Regions from separate parts of the Homo sapiens genome. Here regions 1, 2, 4, 5 and 6 are each linked to region 3. The links are contacts of gene promoters, found by promoter capture Hi-C in blood cells and fetal thymus (Javierre and others, 2016). All regions are on one chromosome and are shown on one strand. Each heading gives the region's core, a stretch centred on a gene start or on the middle of the fragment in contact. The rest is flanking DNA. Distances are from core to core; before and after follow the strand shown.

Region 1 (3,430 bases), core at 370-2,869, 580 kb after region 3:
ATCACTGTCAATTTTACTAGGATTTAGAATATAAAACCTTTACATCTCTTTTACAATAAAGAGAATTTAGAGCTCACTTGTCACGAAAATATTTTTCATTATTAAAAAAAATTGTTATAAAGTTATTTCTTCTGATATGGAGTTTCAAAGCATCTAACATAACCGCTTCAGAATCTCCACAGTGCAAAAATAAACAACATGCATACACTTAAGAACTTTACATTCTTTGAAAAACAATACAAATTGGAAAGAAAATTAGTATGTGATCAAAGAGAGTCAGAGCTCAAGTCTGAACTTTGCCAATAAAGGCAGATGATCTGAAGAGTTATTTTCGTTTGGAAGTCCATTAACAGTCCATAAGTCTTGTTCTGTAAGAAGTGACAGTCTAGCTAGAAGTTTCAAGCCACCAACCAAAGCAACTTCAGCTCCTACATTAAAGAAGCACACACATATTTAGTAAAATTGTCAACGGGTTATTGTAAATTAATCATACAAGTCTTTTCTCCAAACAAATATAGAACTTGAGGCCCCTCCAGAAGACTAAAAACTATGACACAGTTTTTAGAATATCTAAGCTTTATTGAATTATAACCTAATTATAATTATCAAACACACAGCAGTTTGAGATATTTTTTCTATTTCCAGCTCTGTAAACAATCTTTAGAAGAAAATATAAATGAAATACTTAAGAATGTTAAGGGTAATTTGTGGTTGACAACTACATAAGAAACTCATCCAGCAACCATTCTGTAGTTGCATAAAGCCAGAGACACCGGGCCACAGCCCTGTAGCAGTTTATAAGGTGAATGGAGAATAAATTAGTATAATTTAGTCCCAGATAGTCAGCACCCACAGAAGTGAAGATGACATGCTCTTTTTGAAATGCTGATCCATAACACTCTCCTGCCACCAAGTGAACTTCTGTCAGCATGACAACTACGAAAACCTTACTATAAATTCAAAGCAGCAGGCATATTTTTTGTAGAGTAGATCTAGTGGCAGGAATAAGTCATCTCGTGAGTGTTACTAATAAGGTTATTCCCAGAAGAAAGGAGGGGGGAACAAACAGAGGGGAAAAGGGTAAAGAAAAAGAAGCATCCAAAAAAATGGAAGAGAAAAAAATGAAAAAAATCAGAAAAGAATAAAACAGCTGCTCACATTCCAAAGTTTTCTTAAAGGTATTTTTGTACTTCCAGTAATCTTAAACTGCATTTTCTTCTCCACTTTAAATCCTTTGGCTAATGTTTAAAACCTGATTTTCGGCCGGGCACAGTGGCTCACGCCTGTAATCCCAGCACTTTGGGAGGCCGAGGCAGGCAGATCATGAGGTCAGGAGATCGAGACCATCCTGGCCAACACGGTGAAATCCCGTCTCTACTAAAAATACAAAAAATTAGCCGGGCATGGTGGCGGGCGCCTGTAGTCCCAGTGGCTCGGGAGGCTGAGGCAGGAGAATGGTGTGAACCTGGGAGGCGGAGCTTGCAGTGAGCTGAGATAGCGCCACTGCACTCCAGCCTGGGCGACGAGCGAGACTCCGTCTCAAAAACAAACAAACAAAAAAATTATATAGACTTTTCTGACCGAATGTGGTGGCTCATGCCTGTAATCCAAGCCACCCTGGGAGGCCGAGGTGGACGGCTTGAGCCCAGGAGTTTGAGACCAGCCTGGGCAACACGGTGAAACCCTGTCTCTACAAAAAATACAAAAATTAGGTGGGCATGGTGGCTCATGCCTGTAGTCTTAGCTACTCGGGAAGCTGAGGTGGGAAGGTCACTTGAACCCGGGAGACAGAGGTTGCAGTAAGCCGAGAATCATGCCACTGCACTCTAGCCTGGGTAACAGAGCGAGACTCTGTATCCAAAAAAAAAAAAAAAAAATATATATATATATATATATATATATATATACTTTTCCTCCTCAGAAAAATCCAATATTCCAGAGTCAACATGACAGCATAAGCTGTGTTGCTGGCAGTGTAACTATGGTCCTCCAATGAAGGCAGGACGCCTCGGTAAAATTTAAGCACAAAACTATGATGACCATTAACAACATACTCAGTTCCTGTCACAGGAAAAACAGTAAATTTATGGCAAGCAAAAAGAAAGGGCAATATGAAAGACCTATAACTCAGAGGCTGACTGGAACTGGAGGGTAGGACTGCTAATGTAATTCTTGGGTAATAATTTGCTTGGATGTGTTTTATTGCCTCCCTCATATGCAAGTAATCAACTGATTTATTCAAATATATTACCAATCTGTCTATTTCGAAATATTTTTACCTTCTAGATCTAGAACTTCAACTGGATGTTTAGAGAGCTTTCTTAACTTTAACCTTGAGGTTTTAGCTACTGTGCTCTCTAGGAGAATTTAAGATTACATGCATTCCTTACCTGGGTGCCCAGCAACATCTTCCTTTTCTGCAGAGTAGAAAATATAATCCACAGTTATGGCACTTCGGGAATGACAGGTGGTCACTTCTGGAATTCCAGTGTCAGGAAAGTAATGTGAATAAACAGATGACAAACTGAAATGGTGCTGTAAATTTGAAGACAATCTAAATAGAAAAGAAGAAGTGTTTAGAATCCGAGTTTTTGTAACTTCAAGAATTCCTCCTATCTGAATTTCTTTTTCACTTAATTTCTAGACTAAGACCAAACATTAGGACAAGCTTTATTTAAAAAGACCATATCATAATTTAGTATTAATTTACTTATGCAGTGATATCTAAAACCCATCAATAAAGCCATTATAAATGTGGTTTTTAAAAAAAGCTCAATAATTAACATACTAATGTGTTTTTTCATTATTTATAACGTGTGAATGCCTCCACTTACTAAAGAACATGTATTCTAACAAGTTTTATTGTGTTTTTAAGAAAGAGAATCAAGGGGGTCTTCAGGAACACTATTTGGAATCCTCTAGACTTTTGATGACAGAGAGGCCATATTCTTCTCTAATTTTTCTTGCTATCACATATAATTTTGTACTGCATCTTAAAACAGCTTCTCTAATGGTTTATTATATTTGCCCCATGCACAAATATATGTGATGTTATGAGTAAAAGGTTTAAAGACTATTTTCTAGTGATACTTTATGAATCTTAAGGATCTTTTATGCCTTGAAGGAAAATAAAATTAAAAAAGAAACTTATCCAACAAACATTTACCAAACATCTTCTAAGTTCTAGGCAATATGTCAGGTGCTGAGAATACATAGATGAAGATGTTTCCCTTGCTTTTAAAGTGTTCATATGTCAGGAACAAAGGTAAATCCTTAAAAATGCCCTCTAAGTTTTATTAGCAACTTTTTATGTCTAAGGATTTATAATATTAAACATAAAATAGGGCCGGACGCGGTGGCTCACACCTGTAATCCCAGCACTTTGGGAAGCCAAGGCGGGAAGATTGCTTGAGCTCAGGAGCTCGAGACC
Region 2 (3,078 bases), core at 363-2,862, 670 kb before region 3:
ACCCTGGGCTGTAGGTAATGTAATGTCTTTTTTCAGATGTCCTTCACTTTGAATAACAGTCAGAAAATGGCATGAGGTAGGCAGCCTTTTCATAGGCTTGTTAAATGTATTAGACCCCGGTGGAAAGATGGGAGAATAAAGGAGGATCACAGAGCCTCCCTCTCCTAGTGATGACGGTAGAGCACACACCTTTTAAAGTGCCAGTCAAGGAAAGAAACAGAGGCTTCTAAAAGGCTGTGGCTTTTACGCCACCCCCACCTGGAGGAAATACGCCCACCAAGAACATCCTGAGCACTTCACCAATACCTGTCAGTTAGGAAAGCGACTGCCAGAGGGGATGGGCAGGGACGGTACCCAGAGTGGAGGTCCCCACCAGCTTTAGCTTATGTCTTCCAGTGGGCTGCAGGGTTGAGGGGAAAAGCTGGAGCCCATGCCAGGAGCAACCCAGGCAGAGGAAGCCTCACCATGAGGCCCCCCTGGGGTACACTGGCAGACAGACACACACACTGAGCCTTGAGATGTCTGAGGCTGAGGCTGTGGCAGGAGCCCCTGGAAGGAGACACATGTGTCCACTCCCACAGGCCCAGTGCTCCTCCTGCTAATGCAGCTTACAGCAAACCCTCAGATCTTTACTTTCACTTGCTTCTTGTCTGTGGTTTGCAGATTCCTAGTACCTATGCTCTGCCCACCCATGCCTGCCCCTCCTCTCCTCCCACTCTCCCCTAACAGTAAATACCTTTCAAATGAGAAACCCTCTGAGCACCCCTGCTTGCTGGCACCCTCTGTGCTAGAATCTCCTGCTGCAGTCAGACAGGTACCTGGGCGGGGGGTGAAGGGGAGCTGGAGCTGGGCTGGTGAGGTAACCCTGCTGTCCTTCCTCTCCAAGGCCTAATAAAGAGGAAGACAGAGTCTGAGGCAATGCTTCCTGTGACACCAGGTTTCTGCATCCCTCAGACATCGCTCCAATGACAATTTCAATTATTATTCCTGATCGGACATGGCACAGATTCTGAAGGCTGGCTTTCAGTAATCAGCTGTTCCATTTCTCTGCCTCCAAGAAGAAATGCTTTATTAATTCCACATTCATTAACTCATTCATTCCCTTGCTTTTTCTAGCCATCCTTTGGGAAAACAAGGACGGGTCTTCTTTATAATAAGCTAGCCCAGAACCACTCTGAATATCGTAATGCCTGAGCAGCCATCTCCATATCCATGAGTTGCTGTTTATGCCAAGCTTCCCACCAGATGATGGTTTGAAGTATTTCCAAATCTTCTCTAAGAGAACTGTTCCATAACCTCATCATGGCCCTGAAGCCTCTCTCTCTTGGAATTCCCAATTTCTGGTGTTACTCTGAAGTTCCGTGAATGGTGGGCTGGACAGCTTGTTGGATATTTGTCTGGGGAATCAAAGGCTCTTAGGGCCAGATGGGGCTTTGAAACATCACCTGCTTCTCATCTCCTCACCCCCACCCCCAGCAGGGCAGAGTTTCGAATACACACCTGCTAATCCAGCTTTGCCTCGTTTCTTTGTGCTCTACCATGATAACCTCAATAGCCATAAGCAATATCTTATTCTAATCTGCCCACTTCCTTCTGATACCCACTAAGAACTGAGCACCCAGAACTTACCACTGGAAGGTAAAGTGTCAATTCTCAAGATATAAACTTCTGAGACTTCTGCAACTAGAAAGGAGAAAGGTTTTCAAAATTACTTTCAATTTCCTGAAGCATTAGGACACTTTCAATGTAGTTTTATATTTAGAATCATATGAATTATACAGAGAACCGTGGGCTGGTGGACAGCTTCCAAATACTAGAAATTATATTTCCCTCCATTTTGATAATTAGTTCAAGGTCTTCACCACAAGTGACATCATGTCTCAGAAGCAAAAATAGGTCCCTATTAAGCCTATGTAATGTCTTGTCTAGTAGATCTGATTTCCTCTTTATGCCCCCGTCTCCTCACCTTCCTAATTGGCGCTCCAACCTCAAAGCTTTTTCTCACTGCTGTCTGGAGCCTTAGATATATTAAATATAGTCTGACTGTGTGGGGTTAGGGACTTGGCTATGCTGATTGCATGTGTCTAACTTAAAAACCAAGAGACCTAGGGCATGATAACAGCTCATTGCAGCCTCAATTCTCTCAGGCTCCAGTGATCCTCCTACTTCAGCTTCTCGAGTAGCTGGGACCACAGGTACACACCACCATGCCTGGCTAATTTTTTTTTTTTTTTAAGTAGACACGGGGTTTCACCATGTTGGCCAGGCTGATCTCCTGTCAGCCTGGTGTCAAACTCCTGGGCTCAAGTGATCCTCCTGCCTTGGCCTCCCAAAGTGCTGGGGTTATAGGCATGAGCCACTGCATTGGGTATGCATGGAACACATCACTTGCAGTTTAGGCACATCTCAATATGAGAATAACTTACATCCTCTGTTAAACCCAGTTGGGGTGAGATAAACACAGCCTCCTTACTGCACATTCAGTACAATGTGCCAGTGTCTTATGTGCTTCCTGTATATAATCTCACTTAATACTGAAAAGAAGTCTTGGCCAGGCATGGTGGCTCACGCCTGTAATCCTAGCACTTTGTGAGGCCAAGGTGGGCGGATCATGAGGTCAGGAGTTCAAGACCAGCCTGGCCAACATGGTGAAACCCCGTCTCTAATAAAAATACAAAAATTAGCCAGGTGTGGTGGTGCACACCTGAAGTCCCAGCTACTCAGGAGGCTGAGGCAGGAGAATCACTGAACCGGGACCCGGGAGGCAGAGGTTGCAGTGAGCCGAGATCACGCGGCTGCACTCTGGGCTGCAGAGTGAGACTCCGTCTCAGAAAAAAAAAAAAAAAGAAGTCTTTGAGCGTTTCCCATTTAACACATAAGGAGAGTGAGGTTGAGAGGATAAGAAACTTGCCAAAGGGCCAAGGTCGAATTGAAGTCCCCGGTTCTGCTGCTCCTGGGCTCCTACTTGGACAAGCCCTTAACACTTGATGGCGCCATGACAGAGGGATATTCGGGCACTAGTGGCCATCGTGGCCTAGAATTTATTACCTACTCTAGTTCCACACTAGAATTCAGAAA
Region 3 (3,211 bases), core at 352-2,851:
AATCTCATCTGCCTTCAAGTTGGCTTCTCCCTCCACTGTAGGGCTAAGCCACCTGCTTTATATAGTCCACAAAGCCCTTCTGTGAATCAGTCTTTTACAAAGGGAGATATGTACAGCAGTAACTATTGACTAAGACAGAAGGCAGCAAGTTCATTATGAGAAGGACAGACAGAAATGCAGACGGGTCTGGAAAGCGGACCCCTATGGAACACATGGAACTTGAGGTAGCCCTTGACTTCTGGGGGCATTTTACCCAATGGAGCTTGGCGGAGCGTTGATGAAGGAATGGAGTGAGCACACGCACAGAGGCAGGAGCACATTTTAAAACTGAGTTTCCACTGTGCCAGACCCTAGGTGGGTTAGGAGGTGGCAAAGGTAATGGGAGACATGGCTGCTGTGCTGTTCAGAGCTTTGGGAGCCTGCTGAGAAGTCTGGACTGTTCTGGGCAGACGAAGGGCAGCGTCAGGTCTGAGAAAAAAGGAATGCTCCGAGGTGAAGGCAGGGCCTCAAGGCAAATCTGGAGAGTATAAGAGACTAAAGGGAGCGATGGTAACACAGTATCGCACTCAGAGGTTACAGCAAACACAGGGACACAAACTGGAGGAGGACCGACCTGGAACTGCCTGACTTTGGCCAATGAGGCGGCACGATGGAGGGGCACAGAAGAGGACGGTTGCCAAAGATGACCAAGGTTTGGGGGCCGAGAAGTGGAGGCGGAGGAGGAGAGCAGTTTCACTAATACAGCTGGAGAAGTGAGGAGGCAGGGCTTGCTTGAAGGAAGCGCTGGACGCACAGCCTGCAGCGCAGGACAGAGAAGAGACAAAGAACTGGAAAGTGATAAAGTCGTGGGAGGAGGTGAGACTGGAGGGAGAGACGAAGAGGAGCGAGAACTAGCAGAGTCCATGAAGGCACTTTTTCAAAGTTAGGTGGTCACCAAAAAACAGGTAATCAATCCTGTCACCAGCCGCGGGGACAGCGAGGCCTTGGGCTTGGAGGGGGAGGATGCCGACGATGCCGACCGCGCATCAGATCTCGCCGGGAGGAGGGCGCGGGCGCTCCACTTGTTGCAAAGAACGCCGGGTTCCTCTGGGCCATTGGGCTGCCGCTCCGGCGGGGAGCGCGGAAGGCTGGGCCTCAGGTAGCTTCAATCATTCACCTGCTGGTTACGGGTCGCGGCGCCGGGGACCCTACTCCGGACCTCGGCCATGCAACCCGCAGCATACGGAGAACGCTGGGCGCCCGCTCCGCTGCCCCGCTTCCTTCCTGCCCCTGGGCCGCTCCTCTGCACCCCGGGAGCCCTCCCCTGACGCACCCGTCGGTCCCTCGGAAGAGCCCTCTGCCGCGCAGCCCCGACACCCCCCGCCCCGCATCCGCCCAGGCCCCCGGGACCCTGCTCCTCCGCCTCAAACTTCCCTTCCGTCTCTCACAACCTCGTACCTCCTGGTAGGATGTGGAGCGCTCCTGCCGGATCATGGCACTGACCAGAGCTTCGGCACACCTGAGACCGCCCCAGCCCGCGGCGCACGGACGCAGCACTGCGGCCGCTGCACCTGGACCTACCGGCTCCGCGAGGCGAAACCGGTCCGGAGGGGCGTCCCAGAGACCAGGCGTGGCGATACTCGGCGCATGCGCCTGGCCGCTGCCGCCCAGGAGTCGCGAAAGTGTTGATGGGAAATGTAGTTCTGGGCGGGGGCGCCCCTCACACCAGCTCTCACCCCTGTGGCGGAGGCCTGCATGTGACCCTGGGCCAGCTAAGCTGGTCCTTAGACGCGTGCCTCTGCGTCTCTCACTTCCTCTCTTTGTTGGAGGGGGAGGGACGGAGAAGAGGAGTGGAAAGTGGAACAAAGTCAGATGAGTAGGAGCCCCTAATCTATAATTGCAAGAGGAAGCTTGGCCTGGCGGTTTAAAACGGTAATAAATGTCTGGAGAGCACTTTGTATGTTAGTTACAAAGCGCTCTCACTCACATTATGCCGTTGATTCTGCAAGGAACCCTGTAAGAAGGACATTTTTCTCCCTAATTTACAAATGAGGAAACTGAGGTACTTTGTTTCAGAAAGGATGCGGGTGGAGCGGTAATCAAATGAAGATTATTTCATCCAGGGGTAGACTGCGGAGCCCATGTTCTCTCCATTATTCCAGGGGCAGGAGTACCCCTAGGTTCTTGTCCTGGCTCTGACCCTCCCCTTTAGGTCTTGCAATGCTCTGAGCCCTCCTCTCCTCGCCTTAGAATGCAACTGCTAAACCCTGCCCTGCCTGACAAGGCCTATGAAAGCAGAAAGGAAGGATCGTGCAGAGAAAGCCTAAAGCCGCTGTTCAGCCACAGAAGAAGCCTCAAGCGCTAGATGTGGCGTCAAATCTGGTGTTGGCCCTGTGGCAGGGTGGACCTGAAGACCACATCTTCCTCTCCTCCCACTGCCTGAAACAGCTGTTGTGTGAGGGCCCTCGGCTCCTCAGTGGTGAAGCAGATAGAGGCTGCTTGTTGTGCCTTGGTGAATGCTGCTCTGTGTCCCTTGCAGCTGCAGCTTGGTAACCCCTCCACTCAGGCCACTGGGAGCCTCTTCTCTCCTCAGTGATAAGCAGAATAGTGCCAGCCACATCAAAGAACCCTGGACCTCCTGGAGCATTAGCAATGGGAGGTCCCCATCACCTCTCCTGACCACTCACCCCTATCCTAGGCCCTCTGCTCTTAAATCTGTTATATGGGACAATATATATAGTGCCTAACACATTGTAGGCACTCGACAAATGTTTGTTAAATTTATGAATGGAACACTGATTCCAGCCATTTCATTTAACAGTTGCTTACCAAAACAAATTAACAATAGCAGACCACTAATTAAATTCCTTACTGTGTTAATACAATGGTACTTGATAGAACAAGTTCACACCATCATAGAATATTAGAGCTGGAAGGAACCAGAGAATTCTATTCCAACCCTGTCATTCCTCTCTAGTCTTTGTTGGTGTGACCAAACTGGAAAATTATGGGCTCCCACATTTGAAGGAGATACTGGCTAATAAAATATAAAATATGGCTTAACAAATACAATGTGCTGGGCACTGGGATACAGAAATGGATAAGATACCCTTGGGTCCTGGCTTTCGTGGCTCTTTCATGCAACTGTGGAGAGACAGATCATAAACATGTAAATAATGTTCTGTCCTTGCAGCCCCCAAGTCCTCTCTCCCATTCCTTCATGAGCACACAC
Region 4 (3,325 bases), core at 50-2,549, 720 kb before region 3:
TTTGAGGACTTTTGTCTGCGGCTCATCCTGCTACAGCATAAGCCGCCAAGCCCGACCATAAAACATGTTTTAAATTAGAAGATGTTCTTTGCACTTTTGTTTTTCTGGAGGAATGTCATGGTACACAGAGTGAAGACCTAACTTAAGGAGGCCTTGGAGCCTGTCAAGCATACAATGATTCAGGTCTGTACCGGGCTGTGGCACTGCCTTCACTCCCCTCCACCCTGGGCAGAGGCAGAGGGCAGGAGAATCTGGTGAGCTGAGGCCACATGTCCACCTGGTGTGGCTGGTGTGGTCCACACAGCTGGAATGATAAAAGCACCGCACTCATCCGTGCCAGGCCCGGTGCTACTCATGCTTCTCCTTCACTCTTCACCACATTCCCAGGACTGAAGCATTGGTTTATTCCCATTTTCCAAAAAAGGAAACTGAGGCTCATAGTGTTTAAGCCTCAAGCCTCAGGCCACCATGAATACTTCTCATCTGCAAAAGAGAACACCCAAATGTGCCCACCCACCCTACAGATTCTTGGAGGTCTGGCTCACTTATCTCCAAGAAAGCCCCCTCTGGACCATCCAGAAGCCACGAGATGGTAACAGTGCTTCCTCTGCAGGGGCTCTGATCGACCTTGGGTCTGCAAGGGGTAGCAGTCAGGGGTCACCTGAGCCTAGCTCAGTGGGTGTGCTCCTCACACTGCATGACCGCATGCTGTGGGTGGGCCTGTGCACATGTGTGTTTGTGCACACAGAGGAAACGAGTGTAGGCGGGGATCAAGGTCATTTTTACAAACAGAAAAGCTGCAGCATCTCCATAACTCAGCTTGTGGGCTAGACAGTCACCACAGAAAAAAGGAAGCCAGACCAAAACTGAACCACTGGACTACTGCAAGCCCGCCCCAGCAGGGAGCCAGTGCAGGACCCCTGTGAGAAATGGGAACTCTGTACTATCTTTATAGCTTTTCTATAAATCTAAAACTCTTCAAAAATAAAGCATTTATTAACAACAATGACAACAAAAGCATTGACTAAGCTCTGTGAACTGAGAATTTTGTTCTTTACCAAATGGGGATTTCTAACACATCTTTTCAAGTGGTTTGGCAGCATCTTGGAGCTTCCCATTGCTAACAGCGTGCTAATGACAACTGCCCTTAAAGGAGGCCTCCTGCAGAGCGCCCGCTGCCCCCGTGACCCTCCTCCAGCTGTCTGTGAGATAAGAGTAGTGATAACATAGCTGCTCTTGGAGGAGCATTGTGTGACGGCCAAGGCCCAGAGGCCCCGAAGAGGAGGCACTGTTACCATCTCTATTTTACAGATGAGGAAACCCAGGCTCTAGAGGGTGAGAAAATGCCAGAGCTGGACCTACAGTTCTGCCTGATTCCAAAGTTCAAATCTTAACCACTGCTAAAGAAATAAAGCGGTATATATACATATATACATATACACACACACACATACATACATACATACATATGTATATATATATATATACACACACATATACATGCATACATATATATATATATATATATATTTTTTTTTTAATTGAGACACGGTCTCACTCTGTTGCCCAGGCTGGAGTGCAATGGTGCAATCATAGTTCACTGCAGCCTCAAACTCCTATACTCAAGCAATCCTCCCACTTCAGCCTCCTGAATAATTGTGATCACAGGCACACACCACCATGCCCAGCTAACTTTTTATTTTATTTTATTTTTGTAGAGGCAGGCTCTCGTTATGTTGCCCAGGCTGGACTCAAACTCGTGAGCTCAAGCAATGCTTCTACCTTGGCCTCTCAGAGTGCTGGGATTACAGGTGTGAGCCACCATGCCTGGCCTCATATATTTTATAAATATGAAGGCTCTCTGTACCTCATCCCAAAGGGTGTGGTTTATTACCATCTCTCAGGATTTTACACACTCAGGAAACCCACATACTTCGAGTTCTAGGAACCAAACCCATAGGCCAGAATATGGCTGCCCTCCAAAAAGTACTGTGTGCAGTCTTTGTTGTGAAGTGCCTTCTCAGGGTGGCCCCAAGGTTTTCCCAGACTCTTCCATATTGGTGAGGTTCTGTGTGTCTCCAGGGCTGTCAGAGCCCTCATGCCTCAGCCATCCCTGTAAGGGCAGGAGGACAGGCACAGACAGGTAGACACTGACTCCCTTTCTACCTAGGTCACATGGCACATGGCAGGGCAGACAGGACCACATCCAGACCAGGGCTGTGGTCACCAGGGAAGTCCATTAAACCACTGCATTATGTGACATTCTCTAGAAGGCACCTGGGCAGGGAGGCCAGGGCAACTTAGGTTTAGGGCCAGGTTAACTGCCATGGCTTTTGGGGAGAGAAAGTGACCTAAAATATATAGATACAGGAATTTAATACAAATATGACAGCACACACTTGAATATGATTTGTAGGTTCTGACAACTCAGATGAACCTGGCTTTTCATGAAATCAGCGCTAACCAAAGCGGGCATGTATAGCAATGGGAGCCCTTTCCTTCATCCCAACCTAGATCATTCCCTAATCCCTTTTCTATCCCATCCCACTCAGAACTCAGCTCTCAAGAAGCTCAGTTTCATGATGACCTTGAATTTAATCTACCTTCCCTCGGTGCTTTAAGAGTATTTTTTCTACACTAGATTGATTTACAATGCCTTGTTTGTTTCTTTGTAAGCATTCTTGAGCCTTTCTCAGGCGTCTATGTCAAGGCTTTACCTAAACTAATTGTATTGGGCCACAGCTGTGCACAGGGTAACCAAGAATTCTGGTCTCCCTGGGACCATCCCAGGTTTCAAGTCTGGGCAAACCTCTCAGCCCCAAGAAAACCAAGAGGGTTGGTCAGCTTAGCTATGAAGCTCCTCTTCAGAAGCCTTTCCAGCTGGTCATAGCTAGAGCAGTATTGTCAGTAAGTGGTGTAGACCCTCACATGTGGTCCTTGGAGAGCAACAAGGTGTCCCCTGGGAGCTTATTAGACATGCAGACTCTCAGGCCCCACCCGGCCCTGCTCATCAGAATCTGCTCTTCAGCACAGTCCCTGGGGGCTCCTATGCTTGTCACAGTGGAGAACAGCTGTGCTGGTGGGGAGACTTCCTGCTGAGAAACACAGTGTGGATGACATCTGCTTTTGAGGCACACTTCCAGGGGAGTCCCCCATTTGAACTTAGCCCAAAGCTTTTGGGAAGCCAGTAAAGCACTAGACTAGACCAATTTGAAACCATCCTAACTGGGGCAGAGATCAGTGATAGTCTCCAACAAGGCTCAGGAGGGCTGCAGGCATGTAGGGCACCCAGCAGAGCCCCCACACAGGCCTTTTCTCTCTGAGA
Region 5 (3,419 bases), core at 768-3,267, 900 kb before region 3:
TCGAATCCCCACTCTGCCTGTGAGCTGAGAGCCCATGGGCACATCACCTGAGCTTTCTGCGTTTATCTGTAAAATGGGCAAGAGGCAATCAGTCATTTATATGAAAGCGGCCTGCAGTGCCTGGCACCGAGGCGGGCACGGATGGGCATTTGGTAAGGCAGGGAGGAGGAGCGCGGCGCCTGGAGGCTCCCGGGGCAGGGGAGAAGGGCATCGAGAACGGGGGCGGCGTGCGGGGTGGGAAGAGGAGAGAGTTCACGGCTTGCTCCTTCCCCTGCCCCCAGCCGCCTCAGCCCAGGCCTGAGTCTCTCCCCGTCTGGGCCTCTGCTTCCTGCAGGCACAGCCAGGGCCAAGACGCGCCCCTGGGCCTCCCTCCCCTTCGACGTCTCCACCCGGTATGGAACATTAATCATTAACCGTCCTGTGGCCAGGCCCAGCGGGGCGCCCGCTTCAGCTCTCCCGGTGCCACCTAGCTGAGTCACCGCGGTCTGGGCAGCTCCCCGCAGCCAGGACCTCCCTCCGGGCCGAGGGTCGCGGGGTTCGAGCCGCGGCGAGGTCTTGGGCTTCCCAGGGGCCGCTCCTCGGTGCGCCGCCGCCCACAATCAGCAGGGGGCGCCCGTCCCGACCGCGGGAAGCCGGCGGGGCCACCGAGCGGCGGGCTGGCCTGGCGGGGCGGTGTCAGGGCGGCAAGGCGGCGCCTCCCCAAAGCCGTAAACCTTCCCGCCCGGCTGACTACGCCGGCCCAGCCACGCACGCGCACCCCGCATGCCCCGTGGCCTGTGAGGTTATTCAAGAAGCCAAGGTCGGGAGTGGGGAAGGTCAGCCTCTAGCCCGGCACTGTCTGGAAAAGATCGAACCAATTAATTGACTGTAAGAAGCATGTAACCAATACAATGGAAGGCATTGCTACCCTTCCTCCACCAGGTTCAGGACCTCATGCCCAAGGAACGGCGCGCAGGAATTGGTAGTAGGTTGTGGAGGGTCAGGGGCTCTCCCAGCATCCTGAGGCTGTCTCCTGTGAAGGCCACTCCAGAGGTTAAAGCTTTCCCGGGTGCCAGGAGAGCTCTCCTAATTCAGCCGTAGGGATCACCAGTAAAGATGCTCAAAAATCCCAGCATCTCCCACTTGCAACCCACAGGGGATTCTATTCTACTCTCTCTAATTCCCCATGGCCACATAGTTGAGGTCACTTAACAATTTTTTTTAAAGACGGAGTTTCGCTCTTGTTGCCCAGGCTGGAGTGCAACGGCGCTATCTCGGCTCACCGCAGCCTCCGCCTCCCGGGTTCCAGCGATTCTCCTGCCTCAGCCTCCCCAGTGGCTGGGATTACAGGCATGCACCACCACGCCTGGCTAATTTCGTATTTTTTGTATAGATGGGGTTTCTCCATGTTGGTCAGGCTGGTCTTGAACTCCCGACCTCAGGTGATCCGCCCTCCTCAGCCTCCCAAAATGCTGGGATTACAGGCATGAGCCACCGTGACCGGCCGGTCACTTAACATTTAACCTAACACCCACCTGCCAGCAGGTCAAAGGTTATTGCCTATGACTGGCCAGGTTTCACTTCGGCTGCCGTGGTGCTCCTGATGTGACTGCACTGGGCAGACGGACCTGAAGTACTGTCCCTGTATTAAGTGGAGTGGCCCCGGGAATGAAGCCATAACAGCAGCCAGAGACAGCAGCCCAGATTGGCTGTCTTGACAGCCCAGAGCCAGTGTGGTCAAATCTGCCCCCATGATGCCTGTGTCCTTGCTATTCCCGCCCCAGTCATCCCCCTCTGAACCCCAAGGAGTAGCTGTGAGGGTGCAGGTGGGTGAAAGAGACAGGCAGTGGACATTAGTGCAAGAACTAGGGTCATGGGTTCTGAGTCCAGCTGGTCACTGCATACCTACGTGATGACACATAATTTCTCTGAGTCTCAGTTTCCCCAGCTGTAAACAGCACTAATAGGAACTGTGTGGACTACCTCAAAGGGTTGGTAAAGGGTTCAAATTAGATAACGAATGTTCATCACTAACCCATTCATTCGTTAAATGTTTATTACAAACTTGCCTGAAAGATGATGATCCGTCTTCTCAGTGGCAGCAGAAAAATCATGAAAGACCCTGCCCATGACGCCACCTGTGGTGCACACAGGCTTAGCACCAGCCTTTCTTAAACTGTGTGAGCAGGAGGGCTGCTGCAGAGGAGGAGGGATGCAAGGTGAAGGGGGAGGAGAGGCAGGAACTGCATGGTGGAGGAAGCAGGAAGAAGGGCGAGGCCTCACCCATATGGCCTCAGCAGGCCCTGTGATCTCCCTGTTGAGCCCAGGTTCTCCCAGAAGCTCCCTGGGAATTACTGAGCTGGGTGTGGCTTCCTAGCCCCACACCTGCCCAGCCAGCTCAGGGCCCCTCCGTGCTGTCTTCTCAGGATCCTGCTTCAACCTGCTGCCACTTCCCCATGCCTAGCTCACTGTCACTTTCTCCCTTACCTGCCCTCTCAGCCTCAAACTGATAATTTGGAAAAAGAGGCGCCTGGAAAAAACCACTTCCAGGGTACAGCAGGAACCAGCCTCACTCTTCTTTCTCTCTTTTAAAAATTATTACGATTTTTACTGAGATGGGTTCCAAGTATCACTCTCCACCACCTCATCACCTTCTGGGACCTGGATGGACTCCAGATCACTATGTTGCCTAGGCTGGTCTCAAACTCCTGAGCTCAAGTAATCCTCCGGCCTCGGCCTCCCAAAGTGTTGGGATTACAGGCGTGAGCCACTGTTGCCTGGTCTGGCCTCGCTTTTAATTTTGGCTTCCTGGAGGCTTTTGCTGAGGTAGAGATGCAGGCCACCCTTGCCTGACAATGCCTTCCAGGCAATTGAGTGGCTGAGCCAGTGGGAGAAGGTGGGCTTCTCTCACTCCCAGGTGTGGTGGTAGTGAACCAGCCCAGGTGGTCAACATGAACTGGGAACATGGAAGACAAAGGTAAAAGAGCTGGTAAGGGAAGCAAAGCAGGTTTGGGAATAAAGCTTAAAATCTGGTACAGAGTGGGTTACCATGCCGTCCCTCTGGGGCTGACACATCAGGCGGAAGCCCCCAAATACAGGGTTAGTCTTGTCATGTTACAGTTCTCCCACTGGGCTGAGAACTTCCCAAAGACACAAGCCATGTTTCTTCCTCATCTTATAACTTGTGTAAAAGGCTGGATCCCTTGGAGTACAATCTTCTCACTGGGCACCTGCTGGCCATAGGCCAGCCCGCAGAGAGCAGGGCAAGGGTACGCATGTGCCCCCGAGTGGCTCTCTTAGCCAGGCTGGGCCAAGGTTCACCCATTTCCAAGCTCAGCCTCTGGGCATACCATGTTTGGAGCCCAAGGGCAGTTTTCCATGCAACGAGGCACGTATCACTCTCTACCACCTTGTCACCTTCTGGGACCTGCGTGGACTCC
Region 6 (3,319 bases), core at 86-2,585, 600 kb after region 3:
CAATTAATGTTGCGGAAGCACAGCCATAGCTCTCACTTTAAAATGTACGTGTATGGGCCGGGCGCGGTGGCTCACGCCTGTAATCCCAGCACTCTGGGAGGCCAAGGCGGGCGGATCACGAGGTCAGGAGATCGAGACCATCCTGGCTAACACGGTGAAACCCCGTCTCTACTAAACATACAAAGAATTAGCCGGGCGTGGTGGCGGGCGCCTGTGGTCCCAGCTACTCGGGAGCCTGAGGCAGGAGAATGGCGTGAACCTGGGAGGCAGAGCTTGCAGTGAGCAGAGATCGAGCCACTGCACTCCAGCCTGGGCGACAGAGCGAGACTCCGTCTCAAAAAAAAAAAAAAAAAAAAAAAAAGTACTTGTATGTCTTGTGTGTCCACCTTTATTAAATGTATTATAGGACTGTAGATTGTTGAAAGACATTATTTAAGTGGAGACCCTGCAAGAAACAGGAAGAGAGAAACCGAGAAAGAATAAAGTGTGGAGAGTAGAGGGGAAAAGGATACTAGAAGGCAGGAGCACTGCTTTTATAGGCTCTTTGAAACAGTGGTAATTTCTTGGGAAGGCTTTTCTTATCCCTGGTGCATAAAAGGAAGTAAAGTGTATTTGAAAAAAACCTTTCCCTCAGTATGTAATTGATTCTTGTTATTTGCAGTAGTTAGGTTCTGTAAAGTTGCTGGAAACACTGAATTAGTAAATACTGAATCATTACTCCTAAGGGAAATACAGGATTAGGATCCTGTAAGCCTCTGGTCGCATTTTCATCAACTTAATCAATACATAGTTTTGTTGTATGTGTGTTTCCGCTTAAAGACATCTTATTTAATATATATTGTTGATTCATTAACATTGAACTCAGTCAACAGCACTATAATTCATACCTCAACAAAGCTTATCTAACACTGCTATTTTCTCTGCAAGGCTCATGACAGCCTTCTTGTGCTTAGGAGCACTATACAGCACAACGCTTGGGGACCATTTTAAACAGCAACATCAACAAAAAGTACAAAAACGTGAAAAACATATCACTAAATGGAATGTGAAAAGGACACTTGGTCCTGATGGCTCACGCCTGTAATCCCAGCAATATGGGAGGCCAAGGCGGCTGGATCGCTTCAGCCAGGGAGTTCAAGACCACACTGGACAACATGGCGAAACCCCGTCCCTACAAAAAATACAAAAATTAGCCGGGCATGGTGGCTCTCGTCTGTAGTCCCAGCTACTCCAGAATTTGAGGTGAAAGGATTACTTTAGCCCGAGAGGGCGAGGCTGCAGTGAACCAAGATAGTGTCACTGTACTCCAGCCCTGGCAACAAGGGGACACTATGGTATAGCATGAGAGCTGAAACAAAAAGGCAGAGAATGCCTTGTTTAGCCTCAGCTGGGAATGTGCACTTTGGGCAATTAAAAATTTTCCCTGCTCTGTACATGTCCAAGAATACATGGAGGTTACAGATCAATTTTAGCAAGTAGGCAAATTTGCAAATATGGAATCCACAAATAATGGAGAAAGACTGTATTTCTGTTTTATACTGCCCTATTTTCTAGTTGTACTCACAATTTTGTAGTTCATTAAATTGACTAGTAGTTTACTGTATGTCTTGTCTTTATAATGAGATTGTAAATAACTTCTGAGGAAAGACCATGACTCATTATTTCCAAAATTTACTTGACCTAGTGCTGTGCTAAGTACACAATATATAGTAGTAAAAATATTTTTGAATGAATGGTTAACAGTGGGCCAGAACTTGGGACTTGTGAATGACCAGAAGCTTTTTCCTTTAGCACACCCTAAGAGGTAAGGAGAAATGTAACATTTTTAAATAAGTAAAAGAAATTAATAGATATCTTTTCATGCAGTGTTGGAATTTGGGGGTTTATCTGATCCTAAAAGATATTTGCCTTTATCTGGGCCTAGACTATTGCAAAGATTAAAGTTAACTTGCAGGGCGCTTGTGGCAGTGCAAATGATTTTTGTCTATGGACTTGTAAAATAATTCTACCTAGTTGGGGGGAGAACTCTCCATCTCTATGGAAAAGCCAGTTTTGGCTGCCTGCAGTGGCTCACACCTGTAATCCTAGCACTTTGAAAGGCTGAGGCGGGAGGATCACGAGGTCAGAAGTTCGAGACCAGCCTGACCAACATGGTGAAATCCGTTCTCTACTAAAAATACAAAAATTAGCAGGTGTGGTGGCATGCCTGTAATCTCAGCTACTCAGGAGGCTGAGGCAGGAGAATCGCTTGAACCTGGGAGATGGAGGTTGTAGTGAGCCGAGATCGCGCCACTGCACTCCAGCCTGGGCGACACAGCGAGACTCCATCGCAAATAATAATAATAATAATAATAATAATAATAATAAATTAAACAACAACAACAACAAAAAAGCCAGTTTTGCACCATTTGCAAGATCAATATTTCTGATCTATAAACATGTCTGCTCTTTGGATTCTCCTTTGAACAGGTGATAACATCTGTCTGGTTCACCTATGTAATGAGTTAAATAAAATGGCTGGGTGCAGGGGCTCACGCCTGTAATCCCAGCACTTTGGAAGGCCAAGGCAGGCGGATCACTTGAGGTTAGGAGTTCAAGACTAGCCTGGCCAACATGGTGAAACCCCGTCTCTACTAAAAATAGACAAAAATTAGCTGGGTGTGGTGGCTCATGCCTGTAATCCCAGCTACTTGGGAGACTGAGGCATGAGAATCGCTTAAATCCAGAAGGCGGAAGTTGCAGTGAGTCAAGATCGCACCACTGCACTCCACCTTGGGTGACAGAGTGAGACTCCGTTTCAAAATAAATAAAATAAAATGACTAATGTGTTCGTATTATATCTGTTTGAGAGTCATGATTTTACCTTTTTTTTTTTTTTTGGAAAATTATCTTTTAAAAGTTCAGTAGTTCCCACCAAGATGCCCAATGTATTCATCTGACAGAGGCAGGTGAATTTTATCACTGTAAAAGTACACTTCATGGATTGCCTGAGTTCTGGCAATTTTCTTGCTCCCAGAGATAAATCTAAAATGGCAAAAGCATGTTGCTGAGTCTTTGTTTTTCTAATTTTTATTTTCTTCTCCAGTAATTGTGTGTTTTTCTTTGGTTTGTAGAAGCATATCTTGTGTTATTGTGCTTCACTTTATTATGCTTCACAGATACTCTGTTTTTTGCAAATTGAAGATTTGTGGCAACCCTCCCTTTTGCAATTCTATTGATAACGATTTTTCCAACAGCATGTGCTCACTTTCTTTCTCTGTATAACATTTTGGTTATTCTCGCATATTTCAAACATTTTCATCATTCTTATATCTATTAT

Evidence for each region. The method cuts DNA at HindIII sites, captures the fragments that hold promoters and counts their contacts. A CHiCAGO score of 5 or more calls a contact.
Region 1: a fragment that was not itself captured here is called in contact with the fragment with the promoter of PACC1 in region 3 in 4 of 17 cell types (fetal thymus, monocytes, total CD8 T cells and 1 more); the score reaches 8.1 in fetal thymus.
Region 2: a fragment that was not itself captured here is called in contact with the fragment with the promoter of PACC1 in region 3 in 1 of 17 cell types (fetal thymus); the score reaches 5.3 in fetal thymus.
Region 4: a contact is called between a fragment that was not itself captured here and the fragment with the promoter of PACC1 in region 3, in 1 of 17 cell types (total B cells). The highest score is 5.9, in total B cells.
Region 5: a contact is called between a fragment that was not itself captured here and the fragment with the promoter of PACC1 in region 3, in 1 of 17 cell types (naive B cells). The highest score is 5.2, in naive B cells.
Region 6: a contact is called between a fragment that was not itself captured here and the fragment with the promoter of PACC1 in region 3, in 1 of 17 cell types (fetal thymus). The highest score is 7.0, in fetal thymus.

What each region holds. Positions count from the first base shown.
Region 1 is chr1:212,994,765-212,998,194 of GRCh38, forward strand. ANGEL2 (angel homolog 2) reads right to left here. Exons shown (of 9, transcript NM_144567.5): 8 at 2,391-2,554; 9 at 1-428. The coding sequence ends at 277. Among named protein-coding and RNA genes, the nearest start is that of ANGEL2, 19 kb to the right of the region's middle. The HindIII fragment of the contact is 2,093 bases long and covers 574-2,666 here.
Region 2 is chr1:211,738,329-211,741,406 of GRCh38, forward strand. No RefSeq gene overlaps it. Among named protein-coding and RNA genes, the nearest start is that of NEK2-DT, 64 kb to the left of the region's middle. The HindIII fragment of the contact is 760 bases long and covers 1,233-1,992 here.
Region 3 is chr1:212,413,285-212,416,495 of GRCh38, forward strand. It overlaps PACC1 (proton activated chloride channel 1), which reads right to left and starts at 1,602. Exons shown (of 8, transcript NM_018252.3): 1 at 1,438-1,602. The coding sequence starts at 1,473. RefSeq lists a silencer at 1,254-1,313. The HindIII fragment of the contact is 5,506 bases long and covers 1-1,887 here.
Region 4 is chr1:211,694,547-211,697,871 of GRCh38, forward strand. No RefSeq gene overlaps it. Among named protein-coding and RNA genes, the nearest start is that of NEK2-DT, 20 kb to the left of the region's middle. RefSeq lists an enhancer at 713-1,212. The HindIII fragment of the contact is 3,743 bases long and covers 1-3,171 here.
Region 5 is chr1:211,514,993-211,518,411 of GRCh38, forward strand. No RefSeq gene overlaps it. Among named protein-coding and RNA genes, the nearest start is that of RD3, 25 kb to the left of the region's middle. RefSeq lists a silencer at 336-695. The HindIII fragment of the contact is 1,961 bases long and covers 1,038-2,998 here.
Region 6 is chr1:213,016,419-213,019,737 of GRCh38, forward strand. No RefSeq gene overlaps it. Among named protein-coding and RNA genes, the nearest start is that of ANGEL2, 2.2 kb to the left of the region's middle. The HindIII fragment of the contact is 881 bases long and covers 896-1,776 here.